4 separate regions of the Homo sapiens genome follow, and regions 1, 2 and 3 are each linked to region 4. The links are contacts of gene promoters, found by promoter capture Hi-C in blood cells and fetal thymus (Javierre and others, 2016). All regions are on one chromosome and are shown on one strand. The core of a region is centred on a gene start or on the middle of the fragment in contact, and the rest is flanking DNA. Distances in the headings are between cores, read along the strand shown.

Region 1 (5,023 bases), core at 1,149-3,648, 160 kb before region 4:
AGTACTTTTTCAAAGGTGTTTTAAATTTATTAATCCTCAAAAGCAAAGCAAGTGTTTTCAGGCTGGGCTTATCAAGAGACACATGTGGACGGCACTTGGCCCTGTTTTCTATTTACGTTTTAATTGCATATACTTCTCAGAAGGCCGGAGAATAAGTATTTAAGCACAGTTTTTGGTGTCTAGTAGGCTTTCACCTTAGGCTGGTCTACATTAAATAAGTGACATCATCTTTTACCCTCAGTGCCCAATTTTCTAATACTCTAGATCAACACAGTACATTAAATTCCCTTCCTGCACTGCTGCTAGGGTTTTTCTTTCCTGCCTAAAAAATTTCATGTGGGAAGTCTCTGCTTCCCAGAATGCAATTCACATCTAGTGTGCTCCCCTCCTCTTCTCATCCAGGTTTTTTTTCCCCCTAGGAATGTATAGCTCTGTCTGAGTTTAGTGAAAGAGAGATGAGAATAAAGAGAAAAAAGCAATTTGGTTGTCTCAGAGATCAGCAACTGTTAGGTAGAGGCAATAGCTATCCAATTTTCTAGTTGATATGAGTCCTGAGTCTAACTCAGATTGTAGGGGAGAAAGGAAAAGGTCTACCTGTTAATTTTCAACACAATTGTTATTTTATGAGGCAAGGTTTGGAATGCTAGGAAGCAAAGCTTAGGATTTTCTCAATCTAGAGCCATCTACTTTGTAATTAATGAAGCTTCTAAACATCTAGAATATCAATGAGTATTGGGGTCTCTTGGTTCCTTGAGAGTGTATGTATGTGTATGTTTTTTTGTTTGTTTATTTGTTTGGTTGGTTGGTTTTCTTTGAGATGGAGTCCTGCTCTATCGCCCAGGCTGGAGTGCAGTGGTGCAATCTCAGGTCACTGCAACCTCCGCCTCCCGATTGTTCAAGCGATTCTCCTGCCTCAGCCTCCCAAGCAGTGATTACAGGCACCCACCACCATGCCCAGCTAATTTCTTTTTGTTTTGGGATTTTTAGTAAAGATGGGGGTTTCACCATGTTGGACAGGCTGGTCTTGCGCTCCTGACCTCAGGTGATCCACCTGCTTTGGCCTCCCAAAGTGCTGGGATTACAGGCGTGAGCCACTGTGCCTGGCTTCTTTTCCATGTTTTGATAGTTTCAAAGGAAAGCTAAAAAAATGTTTTATTGGGTACCAAATGTTTTATTGAGTAGCCAAATACCCTTTTTTTTCATTTTTGGTTTATGCCATTTATTTATTTAGTAAACCATATGTTCTCAAATATTGCAAAAATAAAGTTCAAGTCAGTTTAGTAAAAGTATTAGAAAAATCACGAATAAATTTAGTCTGACTTAACCAAATATGTGGCAGGGCCTGGCACCCTCTTTCACGTTGTTCAGATGCCATTTAAACCACAAGGTGGTGTGAAGGTTTTTAAGGTTCATGATTGGTACCATCAAACTGCTCTCTAATGTGGTGGTGCTGCCATGCCCCTGGGGGCTGGTGGATAAGACTGCCCAGCTCATCCCATACTGGCCAGCTCTGGGCACTGAATGGGGTTTTTGCCCACCGCCCTGCTTGCCCCAGTCTGTAGCCAGGCTAAACCTGGATCACCAGCATTCTCTTTGTTTTGAGCAGTTGCCCAGGGAGTCTTGAGCACATCCTGGCCCACAGAAGATCCTTAAATAGCATCTCATTCTTTCACTCCCACCCCAGGAAGTGACCTGAGTGCTTCTGATAATGATGGCATCCAGGTACTACCCAATCTACGACCAGACCACAGGGCCTGATGGCTCCCCTGAACTATCCATGGCCACCTGGCCAGAGGAGTGGCAAAATCCTCCAGAATCTTGGTGTCAAGGACCAAGTTCACAAAGAATTAAGCACTATGAGTGGTTGCCTTGAAGCCAGCATATGGGCAAGGTGAAGCAGCTTTGACCTTCATCCTGGAGCGTCAAGATAGTCCTGTCCAAATCCTATAACCTAGTTCTCAGTATACAAATTTAGTATAACTGCCCCCCACCCATCACCTTTTATCTATGCCAAGTCTTCCCAGTTATCCCACCTGATCCTCACAACAACCCTGTGGCAGGTGCCGTTAGTAATCGTATGGATAAGAAAACCGAGGCTTAGAGGTTAAAAAACTTGCCCAACAAAGCAAATTGGGGCGAAAGCACAAAAGCTTTCATGCCCAAGAAAGCATGAAAATGTTTCAGCTCTAAATAGTGGTGATGGTTGAACAACGTTGTGAATGTACTCAATGACAATGACTCATCCACTTTAAAATGGTTAAAATGGCGAATTTTATCTTGTGCATTTTACCACAATATAAAAAGAAAAAAGGAACTTGTCCAAGATCATGCAACTTAGAAATGGAGGAGTGGAACCAGTACTGTTAAGTCATACTGCCTCCATCCTCACCACCACAGCCCCTCAGAAATGATACAAGCCCCTCAGTCTGAATCCCAGAGACATCCTGGCAAAGACGGGCAGCAGCTGAGTGTGATTCAGACCCCTGGACTCCAAAGACCTTGGATTTGGACCTCAACGCTGTCTTTTCCCAGCTGTGCAAACTTAGGCCACTAGTCCTTCTTGCATCTGTAGAACTAAGATTGTAAGCTCTGCCCTGCCTGCTTTGGAGGGGTGATGGCAGGATGTAAAAGAACTTTGTGGACTCTGAAGCTTTACAGATGCATAAAGTCCCCTGCATTCCCTGTGATTATGATTGCCAGAGAGTTCATAGATACTGGATTTGTGGAGAGTCTGTTCACACGGGGGATCCTTTGCAATCTTCCTGGGGGACAGGATTTTTGTTTTTATTTCCTCATCCTACACTCACTCAAAAAAAAAATCCATTCTCTAACATGCCTGAGAGTAAAGCCTGCTTGACAGTGGATAGATGAATGAATGGAGAAATGACCCAACCACCCAATCGGCCAGCCACAGTCTAAGCCATCCAAAGGAGAGTTTTTATGAACACACGTCTGACTTGGTGATTAATACTTTCAGACAGGGCTAGGTGCAGTGGCTCATGCCTGTAATCCCAGCACTTTGGGAGGCCGAGGTGCGTAGATCACTTGAGGTCGGCAATTTGTGACCAGCCTGGCCGACATGGTGAAACCCTGTCTCTACTAAAAATACAAAAATTAGCCGGGCGTGGTGGTGGGCACCTGTAATCCCAGCTACCCAGGAGGCTGAGGCAGAACAATCGCTTAAACCCAGGAAGAAGAGGTTGCAGTGAGCTGAGATCATGCCACCGCACTCCAGCCTCGGCGAGTGAAACAGAGCAAGACTTTGTCTCAACCAAACCAAACCAAACAAAACAAAAACTTTCAGACAGATTACCCAAGGTAGAAATTATGATCCATTTTATACCTGAAAAAACTGTGGCCCAGAAAGGTCATCCAGTAGACCAGGGAGGGAACAATTTATGCCATGGCTTCCAGGGCCTCTCAAACACAGCAAGTTTTGGAGGAGACATATTTAACCAGCAGCATGGGGTGGGAAGAGAGCCATGAGCATCTCTCTCCAGCTGGAGGCCTCTAGCCTGCCGTGATATGTTTCATGAGCGTTCAGGGCCTGCATACTGAACCATGAGTCACTTTAACAAGCAGCACCTGAATGCAGAGAGAAGTGGTGAGCTCATGCAGCTACGAGGCCTCTTTAGGGAGCCGGGACATTTAGGCTTAACCCTGTCCCTGTGACTGAGAGAACAAGGGTAAGTCATTTCCCCCCTTTTAGATGTCTGTTTTTCTCATCTCTGAAAGTGATGGATTGGACCAAAGATTTCAAAGGTTCTCTGCAACCACAAAAATCTATGCTTCGCGAACATTGAAGAAAATGATTAAGGAGTTTCTTGGTCTTGTGTGGGTGTGTGTTTTATTTAATCTGATTTATTCAGATAACTGCCATTGTGCCTCACTTCCATTTGCAGATACGAACCCAGACGAAAAATGTAAACTCATCTCCCAGCTTCAGGATCTTTATGACATTCCAAGGCATTGACGAATTCTTGCCTAAATGCAATTCATTCTTCACCTGTTTTGGGGCATCCGAGTTTAGCTTCTCTGCAAAAATAAACCATTTTTTTCAGGAGGCAGGTATAACCGGGCAGGGGGGACCACAGTTGCTAAGTCCTAGGTAAGGAACTCAGGCCAAATGCAAAGGGATGAGAAAATGATTGAGGCTTGCTCTTTTCTCTGTTGGTTTAATCTTTTTCCACGACTTTGCTGACTGTTTCTGTAATTAAATGAGGGAGGTATTTGTCATCTAGGGTTCCTTTCAGCTGAGATGAATGGAACGCAACTTTCTCAGGAAGCTTCTGACAAAACACTGTTTGTGGCCAGTGCCAGGATGTATACAAAGGCCCCAGGCTGTGTGTGTTGGGAACTCGGGTCCACTTCAGGTCTGCGCCAGGTCGCCGCTGTGCTCAAGCCCTGGTGAAAAACTGTTTGGACAAAAAGTGCCTCAACATAGATGCCGGTGAGATTAATGTGATGCGGGGTGGCTGCAAAGCATTTCCCAAGTTAACAAGGGAAAATGAATGCCTGGCATTTGAGTGAGTTCTGGAAGCCCCACTCCAACAAAAGGCCTTCTGGGGTATCGTGCATAGACTGGCTGTAAGATTTTAAATCTCTTTAGTCAGAGAGAGCTTGGGCTAGAACCTCTTGGGGAACAATCATTTCTCCTTTCTGTTAATGAGGTTTAGTTTTTCATCAAATGCACAGCAGTTCAGCTTTTACCACCCCCTGCTGTGGCCAGTCCTTTTTTTCTTTTTCTTTTTCTTAGAGACAGGGTCTCACTCTGTCACCCAGACTGGGGTACAGTAGCATGATCATAGCTCACTGCAGCCCGGAACTCTTGGGCTCAAGCATCCTCCTGCCTCTACCTCCTGAGTAGCTGGGATTATACCCACGTGCCACCATGCCTGGCTATTTTTTTTATTTTTTATATTTAGTAGAGACAGGGGTCTCGCTATTTTGCCCAGGCTGGTCTGAAACTCTTGGCCTCAAGTGATCCTCCTGCCTTGGCTTCCAAAAGTGCTGGGATTATAAG
Region 2 (5,770 bases), core at 2,708-5,207, 200 kb before region 4:
GAGGGAAAGCCAGCAGTGGGGACAGCCTCACTCATGCTGAGCAGGAGAAAATGCCGCCAGGTCAGATCAGCTGTCTGAACAGCAGAGACGAGCGCGTCTGCCCACAACCTCCCTCCCAGCTGGTTCACGGTGCTGTGGTGAAGAGAGTGACAGGGACTTGTCACTCCAATAAAGCCATCACAATGGCTTCGTTCCTGCAACTGACTGAGCACACAACCTCCGTCCACACACTAGACATGGGAGTGCAGTCTTTATCCATGCCTGCAAGACATAGGGGGAGAAGGGGAGGGGTTGGAGGAGGAAAAGGAGATCAGAGAAAAAGGTGGAAAGCAAATGGAATTGGGAAGGGAGTGCAGGTAAACGGATGACTCGGAAGAATCTTCTCACTCAGCATTTAATTGAGTCCATGTGACCTGTTTAAGCCTAATGTGGGTCTGCACTGTCCCATCAGGGAGGCTGGTCCCCACTTCTGAGAAGGCCACAGTGCCACTCCACTGCAAGGCCTCCTCCCTGCTCTGAAGCCTGCACCTCTCCATTAAACACAGAACAGCTGCCAGAGGACGCCGGGTACTGCCCTCTCTCTAGAATCACCCAGCCTTGGGTTTATCAAATCACTGCATGACCCACCGCTTCAGTGTGTGGGCCAGCCTGTTCTCTCCACCCACACTGTCTCTGCTTTAGGGCCCCAAGACTGTATCTGCATGCCCTGCCAGGCTCCTAACCCCTGCAACTCCCTGCTACCCACAGGTAGGGCCAGTGAACCCCTGGCTCCTATGAATCCCCCCGCTTGGCACTGGACACTCCTGCCCTCCATGGATGCAAGGTGAGGGGCCTGAGGTCAGGAGCCCTGGGGTGCAGCCCCCAGTCAGCCTGGAAAGGGACCTTCTCTGACCTCAGGCTCTCAATCTGAGCTCTTGCTTCATTCCTGGGACTGAAATTCTCTCATGCCCAGTCACTGCCTGGCTTCTGAACTTGAGTACCTTTCCGAGCAGCCACTCACCACTTTGGATTTTCCAGAATGGGCTCTGTTTGTCCCTACCAGTCCCACTACTTCATTCACTCACTTATTCACCCACTCATTCATTTCTGATATTGACATCTCTTCTGTTTCAGGAACCGTCTGAGGTAGGACTGGGCCTCTAAAGACCAAAAATGTTCACTGTCCTGGATCTCTGTCTAGTGAGGGCAAGAGGCATTCATCAGCTGACTGTCCCAGGGAATGTGTAAATGTTCACTGAGACAAGGACGCTCAAGTTCAGGGGCAGGCTCCTGGGAGAGGCTGTAGCAGAGAAGTCAGCCCCAGGCCAGGAGGTGGGGCAGGGAAAAGGATTCCAGGCCGAGGAGCAGCATGTGTACTTCCTGTGACGGGAGGGAGCTGGTGGAGAAACTAAAAGAATGTCCTAGCGGGCTTAATGCAGAGCCTAAAGCAGGGCTTGAGGGAGGCTGTCGGAATGAACTGAGAAAGAGGTGGGTGAGGGCAGCCCACACAGGCCTTCCAGTTCACGTGAAGGATCAGGTCTCGGCCCTAAGCACAGTGGTAACCCATGATGAAGTTTTAAGTGATGGAGTGACATTATTAGAACTATGATTTGAGACAGTTGCTCAGGCTTCTGTGGGACCTCTGAGGGGCAGGGACATGAGGGGAAGAGGAAGGGCAGGGAGGGGCTCCAGCAATGGTCCGGGAGAGGGATTCTGGAGGCTAGATGATATGATATGGGAGGTGGCAAGAAGTGATCGGCTTGGGGGTACATTCAGGACAACTAATAATCTGTATTAGTCATCTACTGCTGTGCAACAAATTATCCCAAAACGTAGCAGCTTAACCAATACACATCCACTGTCCCCCACAGTTTCCATGGTGAGGAATGGGGAGCAACTTAACTGGGGGTTTCTGGCTCAGGGTCTTTCAGGAGGTTGTGGTTAGGATGCTGGCTGGGGCTGCCGTCACCTAAAGACTTTGGGACTACATGTTGGAATCACCTGGGGAGTTTTAGAAACTGCTGATGCCCTAACTGCCTCCTAAACCAATCAGAACCTCTGGGATAGGACCCAGGCATCTGTATTTTTAGAGCTTTCCAGGAGTTTCCAATGTGTAGCTAAAGTGGCTACTGATTGGGGTAAGAGCAACAGAATCATCAAGCTTACAGCTGGGTTGCCAGCCTGTCTGAAAACCCCCGAGCCCCCTGTCCCCATCTCCTCCAGACCCAGGGCACCAGGATTGCTCCCCTGCTCTCTCCTGCCCCCTCTAGTAGGTACATCTCATCTTTAATCCTCAGGCCCTTCTACTCCTGGCCCTTAGCACCCCGAGCAGAACCTGACTATGGCAGAGGAGAAAATGGAGAGAAGGAAAGGAGGCAGGAAGACATGAGACAGAAAGCAAGAAAGGGAGAAGAGAGAAGCAGAATATTGTTATAGCAACTTGCTACTGCATTCAGACCACGTGTCCCACACAGAGAAGGCTCCCATGGGCAAGTGAAATTCACAGCCAGTGGCTGGAGGCTGCAGAGAGCTCCAGAGATCTCAAGGCACTCAGCTTCTATGGCCAGTAGTTCCCCAGACAACTTCCCTAATGAGGCTACTGCACCAGCAGAGGAACCATCCAGAAAGGCACAGATCCAGGTAAAGATGGGGAGAACCAGGGCTGCACCACATGCACTTTACAACTCTTTGAAAATTCTAATTAGGTTACGAAATGAACTTGAGAGCAAAGCGAATTCTCAGCTCTCCTATGGAAGCTGAGGTAACCTACTTTGTCATTCAAATGCACTTGCTATATATAGCCATGAATTGTGCCGAAATGTCACTCCTCTTACCTGACTAAAGTGTATAATTATAGATTTACTTCTATTCATTCATGAAATGTGTCTTCACTTGATTAAACAGTTCATTCAAGGAAAATCCATTAAAATATGGAACATGTTAAAATGTGGCTCCTTAGAGGCAGAGGGCACCGCTGTAGCTAAGATGCTAATTAGGATAAACAGGCATTTGAAACACTCAAATCTTTGAATAATTCAGGCCACTTTTACTGGGGCTGGAGCTCCCCAGGAACTGCCATTAATTTAAGCTAATTAAAAAATTAGCCTGGAGAGGTGTAGACCAAAGCCGACTTCAAACACAGGAGAGCTGTCATGTAGAGGGGGGGCACCAGGTTCTGCGCACCCCCGTGGTGCTGGAGCACCAACAGGTAAGATGGTTCAGGAAATTAGATTTTGGCCCAATGCCAAAAAACCCCATAGCTTTCTAATGACGGAGAAGGTGGCTTTGATAGATAGTGAGGTCTTTCAAAGAATTGGGGCATATGCTTAAAAACTTATCCATGTGGTGTATTTCTGCCTGTCCAACCTGATGTGCATTCATTAAGAGAGCATTCCTTCTGAGAAATGGAGCCACCTACTTTTTAGATTTCTACAAATAAGTTCGCTCTTAATCATCTGTAACCAGATTTGAAAGTAAGTGAAAAAAATGTAAAGGGCAAGTGTGTAACTGAATATGTATTAGATCTGCTGCACAAGGGGAATAGCTGTACTTGGGGAATGCCTGTGGGTATATATCCAGCTGTATCCAGGTGTGTGTGTGTGTGTGTGTGTGTGTGTGTGTGTGCATGTGCGTGTGTGACCCATGCATGTTCACAGTGCAGAGCCAGTGGCTTGAAATGTGACCTCCAAAAAAGATAGGTCTAAGTTCTAACCCTGACAACTTGTGAATGTGACCTCATTTGGAAAAAGGGTCTTTGCAGACGTAATTAACTGAAGGATCTTGGGATGAGATCATCCTGGATAAATCCAATGTTAAGGATTCTTATAAGAGAAAGGCAAAGGGAGACTTGGGGCACAGAGACATGAAGGGGAAGTCCACGTGAAGACAGAGGCAGAGGGTGGAGTGATGCATCTGCCGGCAAGGAGCACCTGGAGCCACCAGAAGCTGGGAGATGCAGGCAAGGATTCTCTCCTAGAGACTCCAGGGCAAGCCTGCTGACACCTTCATTTAGGACCTCTGGCCTCCAGAACTATGAGACAATACATTTCTGTTGTTTTAAGCCACCTAGTTTGTGGCGATTTGTTTCGGCAGCCACAGGAAACTAATACACCTGGGGCAGGTTCCCATGGAGAAGCCTGGGCTTCCTATCCAATCTAGATGCTCACATCACATGTCAAGGCCTCTGGAATGGAACCCCAGTTTCCCTCTATTTGATGGCACCATTTGTCTGTCCCAAAGATATATGGTATTTCTTACATCTCCAGAATTACCAAAAGCAGGGAAACAAGTGGAGGACCATACGCTGTGCATCGTGGAAATGTGGGTGCCTGGGACAGGGGCGCTGGCCTCATGGAGCTTCAGTGGAGGGCTCAGGAGTCTGCATCACTGACTTTGAGTTGACTTGCAAAGAGATGACCATGAGTATGGGGGCTGTAACATTTTCTTCCCCATGGACGTGTCAGCTCCAGGAGGGAAGCACTTGGTTTGTTTTGATCTCAGGATCCTGTGTAGTGCCTGGCATATAGTAGGTGCTCAGAATTGTGGTGAATGAGAGCATGGATGAGTGCATGCTGAGGCTGCACCATGGCCACCCACTCTTAGATGGAGGAGGTTAATATTCCAAGCCCACTAGACCCATCTTGAGCTGGTCTCGCAGGGATGAGGCAACTTCGCAAGGGCTGGGCTGCATGCTGAGGCTGAAGACCCAGTCTGCAGACACAGGGGTGAGTCCCAGGGGCAGCGCTAGCTGGAACTCTATCAGGGCCCCAATGAAGGAAGAAATCTGGGGAGAGCTGTGGTGCTCTGGGGGCACCCCTGTGGGGACATATGGGGCCTGAGGGCAGCTGGAGTTCCCTGGGGACAGTTCCCTGCCTCTCTCACAATGGCAGAGAGTGTCAGGCACCTGTGACCTGAGACCTGCCCAGCTACACACATCAAGACCTCATGGCAGCTCCTACCTGCTGGGAGTCCAGCTGGCCTACATGGCAATTGGGAGCAGAGATCCCACCTGGTAGAGCTACAGGCCCTCACACCCAACCCACAATGCCAGCTGTCAGCACTATCACTGCACTATGAAAGTCCTCCAGAGGGAGGGCAGGGAGGCTGTAGGCTGCTCCTCTCCCCAGCCCACCACTGCTCCTCGGAGGCCTGTCTCCCAGAACCACATACTGTAGGGGAGAAACGCACCCTCGGCCCAATTTCAAGAAGGCAACTGGGGCTGCTCTGGCTTTCAAATCAAATCAAATCCCTCTTTCGATCAGCCAGGCTGATGGAAAACTGATTTCTCAGTTTTAGAAATTCCAAAGAATCATCAGTGATGGATAGAGTCATGCCCTTCCCCCAACAATGTCCATGTCCAAATCCCTAAAATATGTTACCTTATGTGGCAAAGGGGACTTTGCAGACAGGATGAAGTTAAGGATGTCAAGATGGAGCAACCATCTGGGATTATCCTGGTGGCCCAACATGATCCCAAGGGTCTTTATAAGGGAAGGAGGGAGGTAGAAAAGTCAGAGTCAGGGAAGAAATTTGTTCAAAGATGCTCTGCTGCTGGCTTTGAAAGTGGAGGAAGAGGCCAGGAACCAAGGCTCACGGGCAGCATCTAGAAGGTGGGAAAGGCAAGGAAACATTCTCCCCTAAAGCCTCCAGAAGGAACCAGTCAAAATCAAGAACACCTTGATATTGACCCAATGATTTTGAACTTCTGATCTTCAGAACTATAAGATAATAATTTGTGTTGTTTAAAGCCACTAAATTTATGATGATTTGTTGCAGCAGAACAGGAAACTGA
Region 3 (5,354 bases), core at 2,215-4,714, 230 kb before region 4:
ATCCCTGTCCTGTGAATCTGGTCTTTATTTAAAATTTTGACAATTTGTTCATCATGGGGTTTTTTTTTTGGCATTATTTTAATTGCATTAACATATTTTGTTTAATCTTGATTACCGATGTATCTGGCACCCTTTTAAATTTCAGGCTTAGTCCCAGCCCTGGACCTGTGAGCTAACAATTGGAAGGACTAGCGCTGTTTAGTTTGGAGAAGCAGTGACTCTGTGGTCACTGAAGGACTATGTGGGACAGATGGGTCAATAGGATCTGAGTAGCTCCAGTGGGACCTAGGGGTGGCAGAATTAAAGGAGAGAATTCCTTTGCTACTGGAAGATCTGAGAATCTGATGGGAAGCTGGACTCCATAATGTCTAAGAGCAGCTCTGGGACCCTCTGATTCCAAGAAGCGAAGAGGCTTCAAATTTCCTTGTGTAACTTTAACAATCTCGTAACTGTGGGGTAATGTAAGAAATGCTTCCTCTTGCTTCAAAGACCATGCGGACAGGGATTGGGTCTCCTGGACTTTTGGAAGCCACCTCAATGGTCCTGTCCCCTCCAGGGGGTGGGCTTATGAGTGGGTTTTCCAAAACTGTGAGGTGAACAGTCCCAAGGTGTCCCATGCATGAGACAGTGATGGGCAAGAGGTCAGCCTCTTCACCAATCCCGAATAAGAAAATTTAGAAAAGGGAAGTCAGTGATCTGGGGGATGTTGTTACAAATGCCAAAACATTTCCTCCCAAATACACTACAAAAAATGATCTTCCTACAATGCACTCTCGTGTACTGCTCACAGCCCTGCACACAGCCCTGCATGGCTCCCACCCTGGCTGAAAGCCACACCCTTAGAACTATATCCGAGGGAGGTCCTTCCTGTAGTGTCTCATGGCTCTCATCCTGACAGCCTCACAGATCTCCTGTGCAACCATTTAAGTCTTTGGTCTTCCTGAAGCCTCTCCATTTAGTTACTGTACCATCTGCTTTCATGGATATTTTTTTCCCTTAGGTTTTGTGTTTTCCTCAATTTTTATGATATTTTTAGATTAAAATACAGGGTATCCCTGGACCCAAGGATCTTAATAAATTGCAAAATTTGACACCTTTAAAAATAACACTTACTGAATAAATGAGTTATTTCTGCTCATTATTCAACATCTCAAAAAAATGTTATATATGCATTGATTTTGGTATGAAAATATTTCTTTCAACATTTTCTAACCAGGTGCCAGTACGAGCTAAAGAGCTGTTTACAAAATATGTCCTAATGATTTGCCATTTCTTGACAAATCGATAAATCATTCATGTAGAGTTGGTTCCAATTGAGATTAAATAATACATAAAATTATATACATATATTTTTCCTTATTATAAAGCTTTTTCTTGATATAAAATTTGGTCTGTAAGAACCCTGGGGGTTGAGTGAATAATTTAACTTCTGAACTCAGAAAAGACTTATGTGCATTGCTGTGCTGAATTTTGGCTGCTGTTCAGAATTGAGAAATGGATGTTACCACCTTTACCAGGGCTATCATCACCTGATCTTTGATAAGACTTACAATGATAGAGAATGGTGTGCTTTGGAAATACTTTTACATGTCCTATATTACTTGGTCCTCGCAATAGCCCTATGAGATAAGCAGGGCAGGAATTAGTAACACTCCTCATGGAAGCATGCAGAGGCCCTGAGGCTGACACACCCTGTCCAAGGTCCTGCTCACAGTCGTGACAGCATCAAGGTGCCAGACACCATGCTAGTGGCTTGCACCACCTGCCATCAATCCTCCTGATAACCCCCAGAAGGGGGTTATCACAGATATAGAAGCAGAGATATAGAAGATATATCTATAGAAGGGACATCCTAAGATCACAACAGTATGCTGAATAGTGGCCCCTAAAAATATATATCCACACAGATATAGAAGCAGAGGCTTGGAGAACTCAGGTTCAAGGTCACACAGGTGGTAGTGGTAAAATTGGGGTTTGACGCAGTCTGGCAGCTCTACAGCATGTGTTTCCCAAAGTCTACTTAAGGCGTCTTTCCTCTCCTCCAGGAGAGCATCAACACAACTGAGAATGACATCTTAGGTAAAAGGAGCACGGGATGAACTTTTACAGAGTCTAAAGGGCCCTGAAGTTGATGCCAGGACTCTATTATTCATATATGTATACATAACATGTGTACTGTGTTATGTGCTTCACAATATCCTTACCTCATTTGGGTCTCACAGTTGCCTAGAGAGGTAAGCAGTGGAGGGTTGTACATACCACATTTTACAGGTACAAGAGGCTCAGAGAGGTCAAGTGATTTGCTCAAAGTGACACAGGACAATAAATGTGCTCTTTTGGCCAATGTCATCAGACAAGATGATCAAAGGAGGTGGGCCAGAAGGTTGAAATGGGGACCAAGGCACTGACCTTTCCTGAGATGGTCTTGATCTGCTTGGAGCTCAGGGGCTCGAAATCCACGCCAATGTAGCCCTCCATGGCAGCAAGCAGATTCTTCCGGAGGCAGCGGGATGAGTTGGCTTCCGTGTGCACCTGCTCCCACCAAGAAGGCTCGTACCAGCCCGGAATGATCCACTGATATTTACTACCATACATGTTCTCCTCGTATGCCTGTAAAAGATGGAGTGACTATGAGGGCATTGAGAGTCGCACAGTTCAAGGCTCTGTGCCCTGGAAGACAGGTGGGGAGGAAGGCTTCCTCTTCCCAGAGGATTTAGGAAATGTTTAATTACTTGTTTGGTTTCTTCCTTGCTATTTATCAAAGGATCCAAGGTAGTTTATGGATAACATGTATAATAAAATAATAAGTACTGAATAAAAATTAAAACATAAGGGCCCATAAAAATATAAATTATGTTTCCTGAAGATAGAAGGAACAGAATGTAGACAGACCAAAGGTTCTAACCATATTCATCATTAGCTGCAAATTTCACCATGAACTTCCCAGCAGCCCAAGAGAAAAGGGCAACAAGGTTATTTACACAACTCTCATTATCAATAAGGAGAAAACATACCAGATCTTTGGGGAAACAAAGTATTTTCTAGTCTCTAACCCTAAAAATGTCCCATATGGAGAGGATACTGTCAAATTAGCCAGTTTAGTATCAACACAACTTCTACAACAAAGAGATTTCATAAAGCTAATTTTTGTATAGATCTTTACTAAAAGCTGAGGCCTCATAACACAACCCAGGGGGAATAATTTTTAAGGGGCCAAGGCAATTTAATCTAAGTGTGTAGTTTATATAAGATGCCACTTGGCAAACCGAGAAGTCGCTCTGAATCTTTATCCAAAACACAGAGTGTATAAATTCAGATCCTAAAAAAATTCCCTTACATTTTTATATCTTACATGGATCTTATTTGATTGTCACTCACATTCACTCTGGGAGGTGGTTTATCATCCTCATTCTAGAGAGGAGGAAACTGAAAATCAGAGGGAAAGTAACTTTTCCAAGGTCAAACAGTCAGGGAGAAAAGTCAGGCCTGGATCTAGTTCTGCTGACTTTAAGGGTACAAAGCTACACTGCTTGCCTTCCATTTAAAGAAAAGTCATCAGAAGGTTCTAATGCACCCCTACTTGACTCTAATTCTTATTGTCATTATTTTATATCAGGAAAATCATGGTTTTTGATAGCTTTGATTCAAGCAGAAAAGTCCCAGTTTGTAGGACTGTCAGGTTCCATCAAAATTGGGTTCAGAATAAAGTTTCTAAGTGGTGGTCATGTACCCGTAAGTAAACAAAATACCCAGAAGTGACTACAGAGAGCAGGGGTGGATGGAAATTTCCTCTGTGCATTGATGGACTGCCCGCATTCTAAACTGAAACCTTAAACAATCCTTCCGTTCAATCCTGGGGAGTCACCCACATTAGGAGATGTTGGGGAACCATTCATGTCGCACCCCTTGGCCTACAGCAGGGTTAATGTGAGAGGACAGGAGGGTGTAGGGAGAGAAGCCTGAGATTGCTCTGGACCCTGGGAAGGTTCTTGCTGCCTTCCACTTAGGCTCCAGGAGGCTAAAGTGAGGGTCTGTCCACAGAAGGGAGGCCAGAGCTCCCAACAACTCCTATATGTTAGAGAAAAGTTACCATCAATTCTAACAGTCAGAGGGGCACTCTCCTCATCCCAAGTCCAGAGGCTACTCCTCTAAAACACCCTTAATACCTGAGAAAGCCCAGGCTGCAGTGTGGAGCAGCTCATTGGGGTACATGTGAGTTAAAAGATTTGTTCCTTGACTTAAGCTCAGATCCCCTCTCTGTGGTCTCCATCCATTGGTTCGGCAAGGTATCTGAAGATTAAATAGACATTGCTTAACAAAAGACCCCTTCAACTACCTCAAGGCAGTGATCACACTGTCTCTTCACTAGACTCCTTCGATGATACAGGACCTTCGCTTCCCTCATTTTAGACACTGTACTTCTCATAATGCAACCTCAGATCACAGTCATTTTTGCAGCAACTACATTACAATGTTGCCCCAAACAAAACTGTCATGGAAAATACAGAAAACTCTCGTATTTTAATTACCTAACAAAATCCCAGCTGAAGAAAAGCAGGCAGTCTCCGGGGCTTCTCTCTAATGAATGAAATTTAGTCCACAGAAACTTTAAAAAAAAAAAAGAAAAGAAAAGAAAAGAAAAGAAATGCCAGATCCTGGCTGGGGACTAGACTTTTGAATAAAAGGGTCACCCTAGTAATCCCAGGTCATTTAATCAATGGCAGAGCCTGTAAGACTTCACAACTCTCATCTTTTACTGACAGAGATCTCATGTGTATTGAGGTCCCATTATGTGTGTTGCTATTTTTATATATTATTTTATTCTCACAACTACCCTATGAGGTATGCACTATTATCTAAATTTTATAGATGAAATTTTCTCAACACATATAGCTGGTAAGTCAAAGGGACAAGACTCAAAGTCCATTCTTGAAGTTCCGCTCTTAGTAAAACAAAACAAAAGGATTTTTGGAAGTTTTCTCAATCTTATAAGGTTGTGGCAAGGAGACAGCTCCACTTATGAGGAAGTAAGAATCAGTAGATACAGAGTGGCTGGGCGCGTTGGCTCATGCCTATAGCACTTTGGGAGGCCGAGGTGGGCGGATCACTTGAGGTCAGGAGTTCAAGACCAGCCTGGCCAACATGGTGAAACCTTGTCTGTACTAAAAAATACAAAAATTAGCTGGGCATGGTGGCACATGCCTGTAATCCCAGCTACTCAGGAGGCTGAGGCAGGAGAATTGCTTGAACCTGGGAGGCAGAAGTTGCAGTGAGCTGAGATCACACCCCCGTACTCCAGCCTGAGTGACAGAGTGAGACTCTGTCTCAAAAAACAAACAAACAAACAAAAAAAC
Region 4 (5,597 bases), core at 1,705-4,204:
CAGGAGAATCACTTGACCCTGGGAGGTGGAGGTTGCGGTGAGCCAAGATCACGCCAATGCACTCCAGCCTGGGCAACAAGAGCAAAACTCTATCTCAAAAAAACAAAAACAAAACAAAACAAAAAAAACAAAAAAAAAAAAAAAAAGAAGGAGGAGGAGGAGGGGAGGCAGCAGGACACATTTATTTAGTGCTTACAGCATGCCAGAGCACTGGCCGCTGAGCCTGCCAGCTCAGGGCATCTTCTACCCTGGCCTGTTATCTTCCTTAAGCTGTGTGTCACCTGCAGAGTACACATAATATTCCCACCTAGGCTTAGAGAGATTAAATACCCAGCTCAAGGTCATCCAGGGTGGAAAGTAACCAGTTTCTCACTAAAACCCAGGCCCCACCTACCCCAAAGCCCTGGCTCTGGGCCCCTTCAAAAGGCTAGAGACACTTCTCTGTTTGCACGAAGCTAAAATTATCTTCTGTCTTCCTTCCCACTGTTTTCTAAATATTCCCACGAATTGAAGAGTCTTCTGACTGTCTCATCCTCTTGACTTTGGGTCCTTTCACTCAGAAAGTCATCAAGACACACTCGAAAAATAAAATGTAAAGGCTTCAACCCACACCCTGAAACGAAGCACCCATCTCTTTGCTGCCACAAACAGGCCAGTATGAAATCTCTTTCAGGGAAGCTTTCTAAAGGGAAGAAACTGATGATGAAAACATTATGCAGCTGACAATACTTGGTGATGATGCAAGCAGGGCTGCCCTATCTAAAAATGTGTTTGTCCCCAAAAGACCGGCTTTGCAGTGACCCCTCCAGAAGAATATGTGCAGTAGCAACAGAGAAACTGTCAAGAAGATATGCCTCCGTGTAACTGCATTGCTGTCTCCATTTATGTGTGCCAGACAAGTACCCCCACAGAACTTGAGATGCTCAGGCAAAGACGAGGGCGATAGGAATGTCATTCGGAAATGATTTCACACCGGGTTAGCCCTGCACAGCCAGCCAGCTTGCATCCTCTGGGGCAGAGGACGCCTCTCCGCCTGCAGCAGCCTGCGCGTACCGCTGCCAACTGCCACCGGTTCCTTCACCTTTTATTTACAGCGCAGAGCAAGCTGGTTCACCGGTGAAGCGGGGGAGGCAGGGAATAAGATACAATCTAGATTCTGCTCTTTCTCTGGGGACATAAAGAGGGTCCGACCAAGGAGGAGGGGAAGCCCAGATTGCACCACCAGAGCAGTAGCGCGACCCTCCTCCCAAAAGGGTTCTGCACCTGGACTCCAGCAGAAGCGCCCGGAGAGTCCCAGGAAGCCAGGATCAAGCCCAGCGCCTCGGCCCCGTTCCGCGCGATGGAAGAGGCGCCAACCGAGCGTACTGCACAGGAAATCACTGCCCCCTTCAGGCCGCGTCTCAGACGCTGCGGTCGGAGCACAGGGGCTCGCTCGGTCCGGAAAAACTCGCAAACCCGACCTTGCGCGGCCAGCGATCGCTCCTCCAGACCCGCTCCGCGCGCTCCAGCCCCGGCCTGGCGGTGAAGGTCCGCTCTGGGGCTTCAGGCAGAACCCAAACCGAGGGCGTGGGGAGGGGTCTTGGGATGGAAAGCCCTTGGCTCTCTGGCTCCGCTCCGGACTGCTCTCCAAGTCTGTGCTCCGGCTGCTAGGTCGGATGCTTCAAGCCTGAGCCGTGAGAAACTGCCTGCAGCCGCCCGGCCAACAGCAGCGGCGCGGCCGGACACCACTGCACGTCCGGGACGAGAACTGCCAGGGCACTTTCTGAGCAACTAACCCGAGGCAGGGGTCTCCTGAAATCGCTCTGGCCACAGGCAGCGCCGGGCACGTCCAGGCAGAAGCGCTGCAGAGCCGGTGGCCCCACACTTGCCCGCGCGGAGCGGGCTCAGAGCTGCTGGCGCGCACCAGGCGCCCAGCCACGCTGCACGCTCAAGCCCCTTGGGTTCCGGAGCCTTCCGGACCTCAAAGCGCGGCTCGGCTTCCCTGGGGGCCTGTGAGCAGGCCCGCGGCCCCTCCGGCCCTGGGTGGCCCAGTTTGCAGTCAATGCGCCTGTTCCTCCCACTCGGTACCTCGCAGCCCCATGAGCGGGACCTGGACAGGGACAATCAATGTAGGCCTTTGGGGGTCCAGCCCCCACCTTCTCCACTCCTTTTTCTCTGGTCAAAAGAGACCCCAGTCTTCTATCCCACCCCCACCCCTCCCCACACACACATACACACATAAGACCAGAGGAGGGGGTGCTTGGCAAATGTTACCAGCTGTGCCAGCCAAGCCCAGCAGGACCGCGGGGGTGAACACTGGGCACCAGCCCTCTCTGCCCTCGGCAGGCGCGGGCCGGTCAATCGGGGATCTGACCAAAGGCCGGAGGTTGCCTGTGTCCAAACCACCCACCCCAATGCCCCCCGAAGCCCCGACGGCAGGGGCAGCCGGACACTCACCTCCGTGTCATAGAGCCGCAGGTCGAGGAAGTAGGGGCGCAGGAGTGACTCGTTGCGGATCTGCTCGATGGCCAGTTCCACGGCGGGGAGCACACCGCGCCCGATGCTGCCCTTGGCCACCTCCTTGGTGAGCGGCATGAGGCCCATGATGGAGAGCGGCGGGCTGCTGGGCGGCGGCCGGGGGGCGCCCCGCGCCCAGCCCCAGGCCCCGGGCGCCAGAGGCAGCAGCAGCGGCAGCAGCAGTAGCAGTAGCAGGCGCGCGGGCGGCGGTGGCGGCGGCGGCGGCGGCCCGGGCTGCCCGGAGCTCCGCGGGGAAGCCATGCCGCGCCGCGGGCTGCGGGCGCCGGCTCACTCGGCCCGCATGGCCTGGCCCGGCCCGCCGCCCCGCGCCAAGGTCTTCCCGCGGCGCCCGCGCAATGGCGCCGGCCCGGGCCCCGGCTCCGTCTCGGGCTAGGGTTCCGGCTCGGCTCAGAACGGCCGCGGCGGCGGCGGCGGCAGCGGCGGCGCCCGTGACGGATCAATCACGCCGGGAAGGGGTGGGAGCGAGCGGAGTGCGGGAGGCGGGGAGCAAGCGAGCAAACGCGGAGAGGGGGGCCGGCGTCTCCGCGCGCGCCTCTCTCCAGCGCGGCCGCCCCGCACCGGGCCGCCTCCGCCCGCCCCCGTGCGCGCTCTGAACCGCTCTCCCGCCGGGAGCTGCTAGGCGGCAGCCCCTGGAGCTCGGCCGGGGGAGGGCGGACGGCAGGAAACGCGGGAGGCGAAGGCGAGGCTGCTCAGGGGCGGCTCGGGCCGCCTCCAGGGACGGGGACGAGCCGTGCGCGCCGGGGGAGGGGGAGGCGCTGGCGCTGCGGCGGCCGCGGGGAGGGCCACCTTCCCAGCACACGCACACACGCGCCCCCGGCCCTCCGCTGCGCCAGCTGCCGCTGCCCGCCGACCGCTGACCTCCAGGCACCAGAGCGCCCGGGGACAGCGATCTGGGAACCGGGACCGCGCGCTGGCACACGCAGTGGCCGCCGCCGCTCCGCCGAGCGCTGCCTGTAGCACCTGCACGGTGGTTTGGAACCGCTTCTCGGAGGTCTGGCCGGGAAGGTCTGGGCAGGAGAATGTTCCACGAAGGCGTCCCAGAGGCATCTGCAGCCTACGCTCTCCCGTTCTTTTCTGGCGCCCACGAGCCCCTGACCGAGTCCCGGGGGTCGCTGAAGACGCCCACGGGTGCTCGAACGCCCGTTGGTGCCAGGCTGCCCGGCCTTTAGGGCCTTGGCTGAGGACACCCCTTTCCTCCCCACCAGACGGAGCGACCGCCCTTTGCCAACCCCAAGCAAAGCTGGGGTCCCAACCTTACGTGCGCTACCGCCCCCTCCAGGCATTTGACCTCCCCGCGTCCCCATTCTTGATGGGCCCCGCCCTAGAAGTCTCCCGGGGTGGGAGCACTATCCTCAGGCCAGGGCGGGGCCGCGCGCCCCTGGACTTGGCCCTCTCTCTGCCAGGTCGCACTGGCCAATCTTAGCCAAAGCAGTCCCGAGCCAGATGTACCCGAGTGAGCTGACCTAAGACCTTGGGTTCCTTGTGCCTCTGCATACTTCAAGAATAGGAAACGTGATCATTAATCTATAAAGTCCCAGGGGCTGATTAATGCGAGGAACACAGTAGGACATCAAATCACAAAACATACTTGAGCCTGAACCAGGGACTGTGGAAGATATCGACGACCTTGTAACAAGAATGGAAGTTTGACCTTCGCTGAGTACTTACTGTGTGCCTTATGATGTAATCCCCACAACTGCCCTGTAAGCATACTGTGTTACTCACCCTTACTTTACAGGCGAATACACTGGTGCTCAGAGAGGTTCTGTAGCTAGTGGAAGCACACAGAGCTACTGAAGGACCGGAACCCAGAGCCAGCAGGAACTCCGTGCACAGTGCAGTGGGAGCCAGGGATGTGGGACTGCAAGTTTCCTCTCCAGGAGGAGCACTGCCCTGACTCAGTTGCTCTGGACATCGATTCCCTCCGGCATATGGTGAGGGATTTGGACCGGATGATGATGATGATGGCCACACACCAGCTCTACTGGAGTGAGGCAAGGGCAGCTCTGAATCCAGGCTGAGTTGTTAGGAAGCACAAAGATGTGAGTGGAGGCTGAGCAGAACTACTAGAGAGTACCTTGGACAGCGCCAGGGAAACCAGGCCAAATTCTCTCTGCCCTAACTTCTCTTTCCAGGCTTCTATAGACTCCACCTCTCCCGGCTCCACTTGGCATTTCCTTTTCCCCAAGCTGGAGGGTTTGCATGAACAGAACTCACCTGAGCATCTCCTCCAGGAAGGGAGGAAGGAAGGGAGGGAGGGAAAGAAATGGTCCAAAGGACAGTGTAATCCCCAGATACTCGCTCAACTGCTGTCTCACTTGACATCACAAATATCCTCCAGTCATAGTCTTCTGGCACCTGCCATTCCTCAAACCCTTAGCTCAGGTTTCTGAATGAACATTTTCACTTGGTTTTTTTCTTTTTTCTAATTCTTTCCTTTAGTCATTTGTGTCCTCCTTGCAAGCTGTGCCAATATAGAGTGTCCACTGACACCTACATCTGGGAATAAGTTGAAAGCTGGGTAACTTTGCCTGACATTTACTAAGGGGTTGAAGGCCCTACCTGGCATCCTGCCCTACAGCCCCTCTGTCTTCTTTTATGGTGGGGTGACCTGGCCCCAAGACGCATGACCTGGGATCTGCCCTGACCCAGGGGGCACCAATCTCACTCTCCATCAGCATGGCTCCAGGCCAATCTCTGATCTCACAGCCCACTCCTAATGCCTGGGCATCCCTCTGGTTCCAAGATCTTACTCTGGCCTGGTATTACAGTTTGGGTAACTGCATCCCTGATGTGCTTCCTGAGTCTGAGTTCCTGCCTCAGTCACCAGCCTAGAATGCATGTTCCTCCAGAGCTGGGGTCCAGCGTCTTGCTTTATAATAATCATTCATTCCTTTGACCAGTGTTTTGAAGGGCATGCTACCTGCTAGGCACTGTCCTAGGAGCTGATGATATAGGAAGGAAAAAACCAGAACAAAATCCCTGCCCTTGTAGAATTGACATTCTAGTGGAGAAAGAGAAACAATAAATAGGAAGAAGAAGATATGTTAGTATGCCCATTTATGAAAAGTGCTATGGTG

The links. The method cuts DNA at HindIII sites, captures the fragments that hold promoters and counts their contacts. A CHiCAGO score of 5 or more calls a contact.
Region 1: a contact is called between a fragment that was not itself captured here and the fragment with the promoter of GABBR2 in region 4, in 2 of 17 cell types (M2 macrophages and M0 macrophages). The highest score is 6.4, in M2 macrophages.
Region 2: a fragment that was not itself captured here is called in contact with the fragment with the promoter of GABBR2 in region 4 in 3 of 17 cell types (M2 macrophages, M0 macrophages and endothelial precursors); the score reaches 5.4 in M2 macrophages.
Region 3: a contact is called between a fragment that was not itself captured here and the fragment with the promoter of GABBR2 in region 4, in 2 of 17 cell types (endothelial precursors and M2 macrophages). The highest score is 6.5, in endothelial precursors.

Annotation. Positions count from the first base shown.
Region 1 is chr9:98,548,140-98,553,162 of GRCh38, forward strand. All of the region lies in intron 2 of GABBR2 (gamma-aminobutyric acid type B receptor subunit 2), which reads right to left. Among named protein-coding and RNA genes, the nearest start is that of GABBR2, 160 kb to the right of the region's middle. The HindIII fragment of the contact is 500 bases long and covers 2,149-2,648 here.
Region 2 is chr9:98,501,856-98,507,625 of GRCh38, forward strand. The region is part of intron 3 of GABBR2 (gamma-aminobutyric acid type B receptor subunit 2); the gene reads right to left. Among named protein-coding and RNA genes, the nearest start is that of GABBR2, 200 kb to the right of the region's middle. The HindIII fragment of the contact is 3,639 bases long and covers 2,139-5,770 here.
Region 3 is chr9:98,470,737-98,476,090 of GRCh38, forward strand. It overlaps GABBR2 (gamma-aminobutyric acid type B receptor subunit 2), which reads right to left. Exons shown (of 19, transcript NM_005458.8): 6 at 2,410-2,610. Among named protein-coding and RNA genes, the nearest start is that of TBC1D2, 220 kb to the left of the region's middle. The HindIII fragment of the contact is 4,198 bases long and covers 1,366-5,354 here.
Region 4 is chr9:98,705,981-98,711,577 of GRCh38, forward strand. It overlaps GABBR2 (gamma-aminobutyric acid type B receptor subunit 2), which reads right to left and starts at 2,955. Exons shown (of 19, transcript NM_005458.8): 1 at 2,437-2,955. The coding sequence starts at 2,757. RefSeq lists enhancers at 581-1,152, 1,724-2,294, 4,047-4,341. The HindIII fragment of the contact is 8,458 bases long and covers 677-5,597 here.